4 separate regions of the Homo sapiens genome follow, and all the other regions are linked to region 2. The links are contacts of gene promoters, found by promoter capture Hi-C in human tissues and cell types (Jung and others, 2019). All regions are on one chromosome and are shown on one strand. Each heading gives the region's core, a stretch centred on a gene start or on the middle of the fragment in contact. The rest is flanking DNA. Distances are from core to core; before and after follow the strand shown.

What was found. Contacts are between HindIII fragments. The study calls those that stand out against the background at their distance.
Region 1: a fragment that was not itself captured here is called in contact with the fragment with the promoter of MPPED1 in region 2 in 3 of the 25 tissues and cell types used here (dorsolateral prefrontal cortex, lymphoblastoid cells and spleen).
Region 3: a fragment that was not itself captured here is called in contact with the fragment with the promoter of MPPED1 in region 2 in 2 of the 25 tissues and cell types used here (liver and mesendoderm cells).
Region 4: a fragment that was not itself captured here is called in contact with the fragment with the promoter of MPPED1 in region 2 in 3 of the 25 tissues and cell types used here (H1 embryonic stem cells, IMR-90 fibroblasts and dorsolateral prefrontal cortex).

The regions. Positions count from the first base shown.
Region 1 is chr22:43,543,360-43,546,059 of GRCh38, reverse strand. All of the region lies in intron 27 of EFCAB6 (EF-hand calcium binding domain 6), which reads left to right. Among named protein-coding and RNA genes, the nearest start is that of EFCAB6-AS1, 28 kb to the right of the region's middle. RefSeq lists enhancers at 1,842-2,619, 2,620-2,700. The HindIII fragment of the contact is 3,458 bases long and covers 1-2,700 here.
Region 2 is chr22:43,410,612-43,413,311 of GRCh38, reverse strand. It overlaps MPPED1 (metallophosphoesterase domain containing 1), which reads right to left and starts at 1,298. Exons shown (of 7, transcript NM_001044370.2): 1 at 1,154-1,298. The HindIII fragment of the contact is 18,974 bases long and covers 1-2,700 here.
Region 3 is chr22:43,276,210-43,278,909 of GRCh38, reverse strand. All of the region lies in intron 4 of SCUBE1 (signal peptide, CUB domain and EGF like domain containing 1), which reads left to right. The region is part of intron 1 of SCUBE1-AS1 (SCUBE1 antisense RNA 1); the gene reads right to left. Among named protein-coding and RNA genes, the nearest start is that of SCUBE1-AS1, 1.6 kb to the right of the region's middle. RefSeq lists an enhancer at 690-1,190. The HindIII fragment of the contact is 5,790 bases long and covers 1-2,700 here.
Region 4 is chr22:43,567,446-43,570,145 of GRCh38, reverse strand. The region is part of intron 26 of EFCAB6 (EF-hand calcium binding domain 6); the gene reads left to right. Among named protein-coding and RNA genes, the nearest start is that of EFCAB6-AS1, 53 kb to the right of the region's middle. The HindIII fragment of the contact is 4,174 bases long and covers 1-2,700 here.

The DNA.
Region 1 (2,700 bases), core at 122-2,621, 130 kb before region 2:
TTTCACATATAATCTTGTTATATTCTCTAGCTAATATCAAATATCTGAAGTCTAAATCTGTCTTAGCTTGTTTTTGCCAACTCATGTTTATGGTGACTTGCCTCTTCATGTGTTTAGTGATTTTTATTTCATGAAAGAGCTTATATTTGGCTGAATTTAATCTGGGGGAAATCCTGAGGGGCCTGGACTGAGTATGATTGTCTACGAAGATGATTAGGGTTTGCTTCTTCCAAGTGCCAAAGATGCTGCCAGCCCGACGCTGCTTCGGTTCCTCCACCTTGGGGTCCCATGATGGAGAAACCAAAATGGTTTCACAGACTCCAGGCCATGAGCTCCAGGTCTGTGCCCAGCCCGGAGCTCAGAGCCATGCAGGTTTTCCTCACCCAGCCTTGCACTGAAGATACAGCCCATCAGGTAACCTGGCTCATTATGCCAGGATCTCCAGGCCTGTGCCTCAGTCTCCCAACCCCTGAGCACCATCAATCCGCAAAACTTTGGCCTCCCAGGATTAGCTTTTGCAAGCTGGCTTTCAGGTTTTTGTTCACCCGTCTTTGGGGTTAGCAGCTTTCCTTGGCCCTTAATGATTCGCTGTACTTCCTTGTGAACTTTGCAATGAATTTAAATATATGTTTTTAAAAATATGTATCCATCAACTGGGTGTTTTGTGAACGGAGGCTTATTAGAATGTCTAGGCTGCCATAATGCCTAGGATCTCTTTAAACTGTAAACTATTTAGAAGTGATAGTTTCATTTTCCAGACATAGGATCTTTTATGATCAGGTTCTATTTGTATTGTATTGTGGCCAGAAAGCATGAAACCTGGCCACTGAAAAAGACACCATTGAAAAAGACATAATCATGTCTGTTTTCATGTCTGAATTCAGACATGATCTGAATAGCTTTTTTTTCTTTTGAGATGGAGTCTCACTCTGTTGCCCAAGCTAGAGCACAGTGGTGCGATCTCGGCTCACTGCAAGCTCCACCTCCTGGGTTCACGCCATTCTCCTGCCTCAGCCTCCTGAGTATCTGGGACTACAGGCGCCCGCCACCACGCCCGGCTAATTTTTTTTTTCTTTTTTATTTTATTTTTTCTGTATTTTTAGTAGAGACGGGGTTTCACCATGTTGACCAGGATGGTCTCGATCTCCTGACCTCGTGATCTGCCTGCCTCGGCCTCCCAAAGTGCTGGGATTACAGGTGTGACCCACTGCACCCAGCACTGAATATCTTTTTTATCTGATTTATCTGGAGACTATTTTGTTGCTTTGAGTATTGTTCAGGGTTCTTAGTTGCAGATTGCAGGATCCACACAGGCAAGTTTTAGCAGAAAGAGGTTTTTTTTTTGAAGGGTATTAGGATCTTACAGAAGCTCTGGAAGGGCTGGAGAACCAGAAAGGATGTCCCCACGTCCAAGAACGTGGCAGCCAAGAGAAACCCAACCCCACCAGGAGGCTTTTCCAGAAGAAACCCACTGCCACTGCCTCCCAGCAGAGCTCAGCACTGTGGTGCTAAGGGGATGGGACCAAACCCCTCTGCCACCAAACAGACCAGAAGAGCTGATCACCACCTGGGCTAATTCCTTCCTTCCACCTTGCAGGCAGTTGTGTCTGTTGTGTCTGCTACAGAGAAAAATGGGCACAGTACCTTCTAGCTGCCCAGCCTCTGTAGTTCAAGAAGGCAGACCACATCCAGAGACACGAGGAGGGGTGGCCTGGATAGGAGCCGAGACTTCCTCCTGTAGCTGTGGGGTGGGAGCATAGGTGCAGTCAATTTGATATAATGTATATTTTCTCTATGAAGTATGGGGTAAGATTATCAGCTGAGAGTGAGGGGACCATAGTGGATATTTAAGAAGAGGAAATGGTGCAGAGGGGTTGCCACAGAGAGCAGCAAGGGACATTTACTGGGGAAGAGTTGTGGGCGTGTCTGGCAGTTACAGCAGGAGCTTCCCCAGTAAGCTCAGGGGGAGGCTGGGGAGGGAGGAGTGGAGTGAAGAAGTAGTTGTGTGGGTTCCAAGCTTTGTTCAGGAGGGAGGTGAGGGCTGGGCAGGATGAAGGATAGGGTAAAACAGAGTGGTGGGTGGACGTAGAGCTGGTCTCAAGGAGGAGGGGTGAAGACACAGAGGTGAAGGTTGGAGAGAGAAATGTCTAGAACTAGGAGAGGCCAGAAGAGAGGCCTGTGGACTTGGTGCGGGACTGGGGCTGCCGGAGGGTCTTCTCAGCATTCCTGCGCCACCCTCGGCTCACATCAGTGCCTGAGAGGGGTCCCTTTCCCTCTCTTGCTGCCTTTGCTGGTGCTGGGCTCCTGACGGGGTGGAGGCATCCTGGGCCTCGGGTGAAGCTTTCTCACTGCTCCGGCCCCATCCAGCCCCTCCAGGGCAGCCCTCTCTGCCTCCTGTCTCTGGCGGCTATTGGGCTCATCCCCTCAGACCTCTGCTTTGTAGAGGAGCAGACCTTGGGCCCAAGGGGTCGCTGCCCATTCTGCAAGGATGTCGATCCTTCCCCTCCCCCAGAGCCTGGGTGAGGTTCCCAGTGGAGGAAGGAGGGGTTCTTACCCCTGTCCTAGAGGCAGAGAGTTGAGTGGGTTTCCCCAGCAGCTTAAGGCTTCTGCATCCTATCGGGGGGTCTGGAGAAGTGGCCCCGTGCACACACTCTCTCACCTCGGGCTTGCAGGTGGATCTAGAGCACCAGCAGAGGTGCG
Region 2 (2,700 bases), core at 49-2,548:
TCCCTGCTAACAAGTCTCCCAGTGCCATTCAACTCCCGTGAGCCAGCTCCGCCATTCAACAGCCAGCCCACTTTTGTTCCCCCAGTTTAATTTCATAATTGTTTGCCACTTAACAAGCTCTCCTCTGGGCCATTCAATAGAGCAGGGGAAATGGGGAGGGGGAAGGCAAAGAAACTCTGGGAGGGGAGCTGGGAGCCAGGCCAGCCCAGCACTGGGGAAGAGACATCCCAGAGAGGTCAGCTGGACAGGGGTGGGGGCCAGTTCCGGAGTGGAGCCTCCTGACACCAACTGGGCCACCCAGCTTGAGCCCGGAGAGGTGGGAGGGAAAGGAGCAGGGTGAGTTCCGAAGGCCAGGCCGGGGCCTGCCAGACTCCTGGGCACATCAGTGCTCTGAATGACACGCCTCTGGCCCTGCCAGGGTGAAGGGAGACAGCATGAATTCACGCTCCCGTAACATGTCCCAGAACAAACACACAGGAGACAGAACTGCTCCTTAGTTTGGGCATTCCATGATCAACATTCCCTTTGAGGGCTGGGACCTGTCTAGGTAGCCACTGAATCCCCTGGCCGAGCACATAGCAGACAGGAATAAATATGTGTTGAGTGAGTGGATGGATGGATGGATGGATGGATGGATGGATGGGAGGGAGGGATGAATGGATGGAAGGAAATGGATGAAGTTTCCAGCAATACCTAGCAAAAGTGGCCACTCGGCCAGCGTTCGTTCCCTATCTCTTCCCCCCCAAGTGCCAGCAGGGGCTTGGCAGCGCACACAGTAGGCTCTCTACAAGCGGGGGCTGCTATTGTTACCACTATCATCATCACTGGCACTCCACCAGCCCGCTGCTTCCACCAGCTACTCCGCCAGCAGCAGCAGCGACTGGCGAGCAAGGGAAAAGTTTCGCTGACCCCGCGGCCCCAGCCGGAGTCCCGCGCCCTGGCGGAGCCCCCTCCCGCCGCCGCCCGCTAGGCAGGCGGGGCAGCTGGGGTGCCCAGCCCGCTTCCCGCACCCGGCAAAGGCGGCCAAAGTAACTTTGCGGGCGCCCCTGCGCAGCGCCGCGGGCGTCGCCCAGCGCCTGGAGAGGGTCCCGGCCGCGCCCCGCGCCCGGCCTCCCGCCCGCGCCCGCCGCGCCCCGCCCGCCTCCGGTCCTACCTGGCCCCGGGCTCCTCTTCGGCGGCCGCGGCGGCTGCGAGCAGCAGCGCGCACCGAGGGAGGCAGGGGCTCCCGGGAGGGAGGCGCGCAGGGGCGGGGGCTCCTCCGGCGGCGGCCGCCTCGCCGCGCGTCCGAGGCTGCAAGTGGGAGCCAGACTCCTCCTTCGTGGGGCGGGGGGCTCCCCGCGCCCCCTCCGCCGCCCGCCCGCGCGCCGCGAGGCTCCGAGCCTCCTTGGCTCCCCCCGCCCGCCGCCGCCCGCCTCCCCACGCCCGCCCTCCCCGCCTCTCCGCGCCCGGCCGCCGGGAGGGGCGCGCTCGCGGCCTCGGTCCCGGCCCTTGCGCCGCCACCCGCCGGGGCCCCCGCCAGGCCCGCCAGGCCTCGGCCCTCGGCCCCCGCCCGGGCTCGGAGTCCGCATCCCGCTGCGGAGGGACAGGGAGCGCGGCCGCGGGCCTGGACGCGGGAGGAGGAGCGGGGCCCGCGCTGCGGAAAAGGGAGGGGGCCGCCCCACTGCGCCCGGCGCCCCTCTTGGCGCCCGCCCCCAGCCCCGGACCGGGCCGCGCGCGGGCTGGGCAGGGAGCGGGGCGGGGGCGCTCTCACCTCCGGATCCGTGGCCTCCGCAGCGGGCACCGCGTGCAGGGGCGTGCGCGGCTCCTTCCGGGGCGCCGCAGCCTTCGCCCGAGGCCCGGACCCCCTCCTGGGGCCGCCGGGGCACCCTGCTGTGGGCCCCTCCCGCCCGGGGTCTGGAAGGTCCCCCTCCGGAGACGGAGACACTCTGACCCCAGCTCCCAGTCTGAATAGGTCGGGGTCCTCCTCCTGGGCCACCATCTCTTCCACTCGGGAGTCACAGGTCCCCAATCCCGGGCACAGCAGGTAGCCTGCAGCGGCCGGAGCCCCAACGGGATGGGTAAACAAGTCAGGAACTCAGACGGCGCGACACCCAGTGTAAAGAGGCCCTGCCTTGCTGGGAAGAGCAGAGACCATCGCCTTCAGTGTCGGGGGTCACCCTGGGGAGTTTAAGGCCCTGTGGCTTCCAGCCCCTTGCCGCGGGTGGGACGGGGATTCCAGGGCCTTGTATAGTTAGGGTGCAGATCACTCTGGCCTGGGCCTCCCAGACTGAGAGGAAGATGAAAAGGGGCTGTGGCTCCTCAGAGGCCCAAAGCCCCTCAACAAATGCTTGTAGGGTCTCCCTTCACCAACACACACATCACACAATCCCCAAGGACACCCTCTGCGGGCCCCTCAGGCCTATTCTGCCCCTGAGGACTGCTATCTGGTGTGGCTTCCTGGAGGTGGGGACAGCCCAGTTGAATGAGTGTATGCCAGGAGAGAAGGCCTGGAAAAGACATCCAGGCCGAGGGAATGCGGCATGCAAAGGCCTTGGCATGTGAGTTCATTGGGGCTAGAGACAAAGGAAAAGCAAGGGAGGGAAGATGAGGTGGCAAGGCTGGGAGTGAGGGAACAGAAGCCAGATCGGGAAGAGCCTTGGATAGACTTTATCAGGGGCAGTGGGAGCCATAGAGGGTTTTTAAGCAGGGCTGTGACTTGGT
Region 3 (2,700 bases), core at 4-2,503, 130 kb after region 2:
CGCAGCTCAGGTGTCCTCGACAGGCCCAGCTCCACCCTCCTGGAGCTTTGCTGTGGTTTCCATACAGGGTCGCCTGATGCTCACAGCCACCCTGTGACATGCTTTGGATAAGTACTAATGTCCCCATCATGGGAGGGAAAACTGAGCTTCCCTGAGCTGCACTGGGGGGGCAGGACTTCAGGATCAGGGGCTGGATTCTGAGGCCAATGTCAGTTCTTTTTGCCCTGCACCATCCACTTGCAGACTCAAAGAAACAAGCCAATGGACAGAGACCCATGGGCCCTCCTGAGCCACCTCAGCCACATATTGATAGGATCCTATCAGTGTGCCTAGCTGTCAGGTTCCTATTGGCTCCTGGGACGGGATTCCTATAGGATCTGGGCCAGGCCTTGACCTGAGGGGCCCTAGCACGGCTCCTGCAGGGCCAGAGACATCCCCTGCCCTGTTCCAGGGCTTTCCATTATCAACTGTGAGTGCTGGGGCAGCACGGCTAGGAACTTCCTGTTTAAAGAGAGGGTGTGGCCATGCCTCCGAATCCCATCCCAGCCTCAGCACCTGCCTTCTTCAGCCACTCCTTGGAGAAGATCAGCCAGGCAAGGGCGCCAGGCAGGACATGTGGGGTTGCAGGTTCTCCTCGCTCCCTTGCCTGCTGCAGACCAGGTGGACAGGAGAATAAACAGCTCCCTTGCTTACTGGAGAGATTTATGGTGCTACCGGAGGAGGCCTGTCCTGGCCCTGTGCGGTCCGGAATGGCCCTCAAGGTGGGGACAATAAATCCAGCCCATTATTTTTTATGAGCCTCCCACTCCATAAACAACTCTTTCGGCTGGTAAGCCCAGCTTCACGCCCCTCTCCTGGCCTGGCCTTGAGCCGGCGCCAGGGGCACCCCCAGTACTGACTTCACATCAGTGGTATAAATTTCCCCTAAGCTGCAGAACTTTCAAATCTCCCAGAGTTGTGGGTGCAGGGCAGGGAGAGCTGCAACCCAGAGGGCTAGGCCAACAGGTAGCTTGCCCAGCCCTGGCGTCCTTCTCTGCCACAAGTCCTGGGGCAAACATTCATATATTTTATGACAGAATTGTTTACGAGAATTAAAATGAGATCGTATATACAAGACATCGCCTCATGTAGAGCCCGGTCCAGATCACTAGAACTGTGCAAAGCTGTCATACGCATCATAGCTGAGCATAGTGCATAGACTCTGACACGAGTCATCAGATCCTGAGAACAGTCTGTGTCATGTAGCTACCCCATTTTGCAGGTGAGCAAATGGAGGCTGAAAAGCAAAGAGACTTGTCCGTAGTGAAGAAGTAGCAAAGCCAAGATTTGCACCCAGGCCCAACCGCCTCCTAAGATCAAAGACACTTGATGAACCAATGGATGGGGGGCCAGGGGCAGGGGTGCTGTGCAGCCCAGATGCCCTGTGACACAAGGAGCCCCTGTCTCGCCATGCTGCCCTCTGCCTAGGGCTGCGCTGCCGTCTTTTGCCTGAGTTAGTGCGGCAGCTGCCTCACAGGCCTCCCTGCCCCGCAAGCCTTCTGGTAGCAGCCAGAACCACTGCTCTGCCCAACCCTCTGGCTCTGTCATTCCCCACTCAAGACCTTCCCATGGCTCCTGAGAGGAATGTGGTTCTCTGCAGCCTGTCCTTGCTTGGCATGTCATGAACCAGCCATAGTGAACTTCTCATCCCGGCCTCTGCCCACACAGCTCCCTCTGTCTGGAACTCCCGCTCATCCTGACTGACCATCGCTCACTGAGAACCCTCTACACCTTTTCCCCGCACACCTCCTGATCCCCCAGGTGGAACCTACGCATCCCTGCCTCTGTCTCATTCGGCCTCCACCCTCAGCCTCCCTGCCCTGTCTCTCATGTCTCTGCTCCCGGGCCTTTCTCCCCCAAGTGAGGATATGCCCTTGGACACAAGGACCCGCTGGCCCCCCAGTGTCCAGCCTGGGGTCTGTAGGGAGCAGGCAGTCAGGAAAAGCTGAGGCGAGGTCATGGAGTTGACGTGCGTGAGAACCGAAAGCATGCTGCCCTGGAGGGAAGCTGGCCTGCACGCCTGTTCTAGAGTGAAGTAGCAGAGGCCCTGGAAACACCATGTGTCCTGTCAGAGGTCACTTAGCATGTTGGGGGCAGAGCTGGAACTTGTCCCAGGCCCCTAGGCTCCAGACCAGTGCCCACCCCCTACACCGTAGCCCACAGCCTGGCTTCCCACCTGGGGTTTGTGGGCACAGGCCCTACGCATGGAAAGTCATGCAGATCTGGAGTGTGGGTTCGGAAACCACCGGGCAGATGCCTGGTTGGCAGAGTGGGGAAGCAGCCGAGGTCATCCTGGGTCATTAGGGAGTGGTGTGAGCCCTCCCTAGCCTCATTAGGGAAATTGGGTTGTGACTGTGGCCACAAGGCCAATCTCCTGGTGGGACGTCTGCCTGGCCACCCCTGGCCGCAGCATTCCCCAGGTCCTCGTCACCCGCCTGAGGCCAGCCAGGTGGGTTTTTGTCTCCCGGCCTGGTGGCTGCTTGATTATGTCACCAGACTCTTTCAGCATGTACGTCCCATGGGACTTCTTCCCTTCCTCCTCAGCCCCCGATCCTGGCTCCTCCTCTGCCTCAGCCCTCTCCTAGCTCTCCCCTAAGCTTCTTGAGTCTCCTTGCTGACCAGCAGTGGCCACTTCTCCAGCTCTGACCCCAGTACCAACTG
Region 4 (2,700 bases), core at 93-2,592, 160 kb before region 2:
TGAAGATGTTTTTTGTTCCAAGAGAGAAGTGAAGAATGTAGTTTTCAACCAAAGGGATGGTAAAGTACATCAAAATGTTTGTAATCTTTTATGAACATCATATTTATATTCGCTGCCAACAGTGTTACTTCAATTTATCTTTCTTTTTATTGTAAATATAATGGTGTCTACGTATTTTCAATGAATATGGTAAAGAATGGGGAAGTTTCCTTTTCAGGAAAGGGCTCTAAGATAATTGTAAATAAATTAAGTAAATTATTAAGATATTAGCATTACTGTTATTTACCCTTGCTCTTGATGGCAAGAAAAGCTAAGTCTTCTTGATGTAATTTCAGCGATTTTAACTATTTCCCTTGAATTTCACTCACTCTCTACTTGCCAATGCAAAATTCACTACCTGCCATCCTGTAGGTGGGTGGCACTGTGGCAAGTCTTGAGGGGTAACTCAGGCTGACTTGGACTCTCAGGGGGGCCTTGGAGACAGGCCAGGGTGCAGGGGCTGCTAGGCCCCCTGTGCCACGCTAAGGCAGAAGGAGTATTATCGCAGGCCACCCAGCAGGGCCTACAGGCATCATCACGTGGTGGTTCAGTGGGAACCAGGCAGACTCCATGCATCCACTTCTCCTCCTCAGGCTTTGAGCTTGGTAAGCTTGCTGCCCTCCTGGGGGAAGCCCAGGCACCTTGGCATGGGTGGTGTCTGCTTCCTGTAGAGCATCTGTGACTACACGGGTCCTAGCACTGCCCCAGTATCTGCACTAATATGGATCACCTCCTTAAAGCCAGCTGTAGTGATAAAAGCAACAGAATGAAAGTCACATCATCATGGAAAGTTGGCAAGGAGGTTGCACAGGCTGCTGAGATTCACTCTCACTTAGCGTGCTACAGAGTTATTCTTTTGTTGTTCAAACTTTCTCCCAAGTCCCGATTGGCTGTGGCGACACTGCAGCTCCTTCCATGCATGTGTCCTGGGTCCGGCCTGGCTCTGAAGCCTCCCTTTAGAAAGGAGTATGAGTCCCCCTCCAACCCCGGTTCCCAGTAGCATGGACAGGGTAGGCACTCGGCATGTGCCAGGCAAGCTCTGCCGGAAGTAGCACAGGGCCGGCCGCCAAAGGGAGGGAGGCACAGTTTCTGATGCCTCTTGCAGGAATGTGAGGGGGCCACACCAGGCTTTCCCCACCTGGGCCCTGTGAAGGGTGGTCACATGGGCCCCCTTCCCCACTGGAGAAGCCCCCTTTCAAACACAGCTGTGTCAGGCAGAAGACAAGGCTATCATGAACCTGTTGGTGAAGTTGGAAGAAGCACATCAGACAGAATTTCTCGTAATCGTTTTAATTTGTGTGGTTGAATTTTCTCAAACCTGGGAGTCCCATGTCCCCAAGGGCAGGGATGAGGTCTCATTCTCCCTTGTGCCCCAGCCCTATGCAGCACACCCCATGGCAGGACCTCAGCCAGGCCCCATGGAAATGCATGGTGCGGGGGACACTGCTCACCTCCTCCAGCACCTGCCTTGTGTTAATCACCACTCCGGCATCCTCAGAGCACTCCCGCCTCATTCCCCTGAACCCGGATCAGGATTCTTCTTGATTCCTAGCCTCCACGGGAAGCCCTCTATATATTCAAACTAAATGGACAACGGTGCAACCAGCCCAGGCAGGCTCCCCATTCATTTGGTCCCTCCAGAGCCACGACAACCATTTGTGGATCAATTAAGCATCAGAGTTGAGTCGCACCAGTGATTCTATGAGGTCATGATCCTATCAAGAAGCCAGGTACCAATCCAAGAACGTATTGTCCCAAATAAGTCTTGCAGAGAAAATCCAAAATACAGATGTTACCAGCATCTTAACTGTCATCACACACCCAGGAAGGTAACTTATAGTGTGGCTGCTTATGTTCTGGCTCAGGATGCTGCACTGGACTGGACGAATCTCAACACTCAACACTCAGCAAGTGAGAATGAGAATGTGTGCCTGGCTCTGGGCCAGGCCCTGGGGTTCAGGCTTGTGGTGGGGACAATGAGCCTCATTTGCAGAGGAGGAAACTGGGTGGGCGTCTCAAAACATGAGCTTCTTCAGGAGTGGGGGTTTTGGCTCACTGCTCTGTTGCTCCTGCCTGTGAGTGTGCCTGGCACATCATGGGCCCTGGTCAGTGTTGCTGAGTTGGGATTTTCAGGAGGCTTCTGTGTTCTTGCACATGTGGTAGGTGGTTGGACTTCGGTGAAATCGGAGGAGCATGGCTTCGGAGTCAAACAGTCTCCATTTCCAGCACCGGCTGGCAGGAGCTTGGAACTGAGCCCTACTTACTTTGTCTGTACAGCAGGGAGAGCTGTGGCTGCCTCGCATGGTGATGTGAGGACCAGAGAAGATTCCCTGTTGCCCAGCTCAGTGCCTGGGTAAAGGAGACGCAGGAAGGAAGGCCACTGGTACTCTGGGGTACCAGAGGGGGAAACAGAGAGGTAGAAACATTCTTTCCCAGTCACACCATTAGAAATGCTAGTGCTAGGATTCGAATGCCAGCCAGTTCCAAGGTCCATGCTCCCCGCTCCCTTCCTGAGCAATGAGAACTGTTTGGTGTGTGCCTCCTAGGCTCATTGTTCGGATTAAGCAAGTGAATGTAGAAAGAGCTTTGCCTGGTACCTGACACAGCAAACACCAAACATTTGCATTCCTTATTATTTTTGTATTCTATCCTATTTCGGTG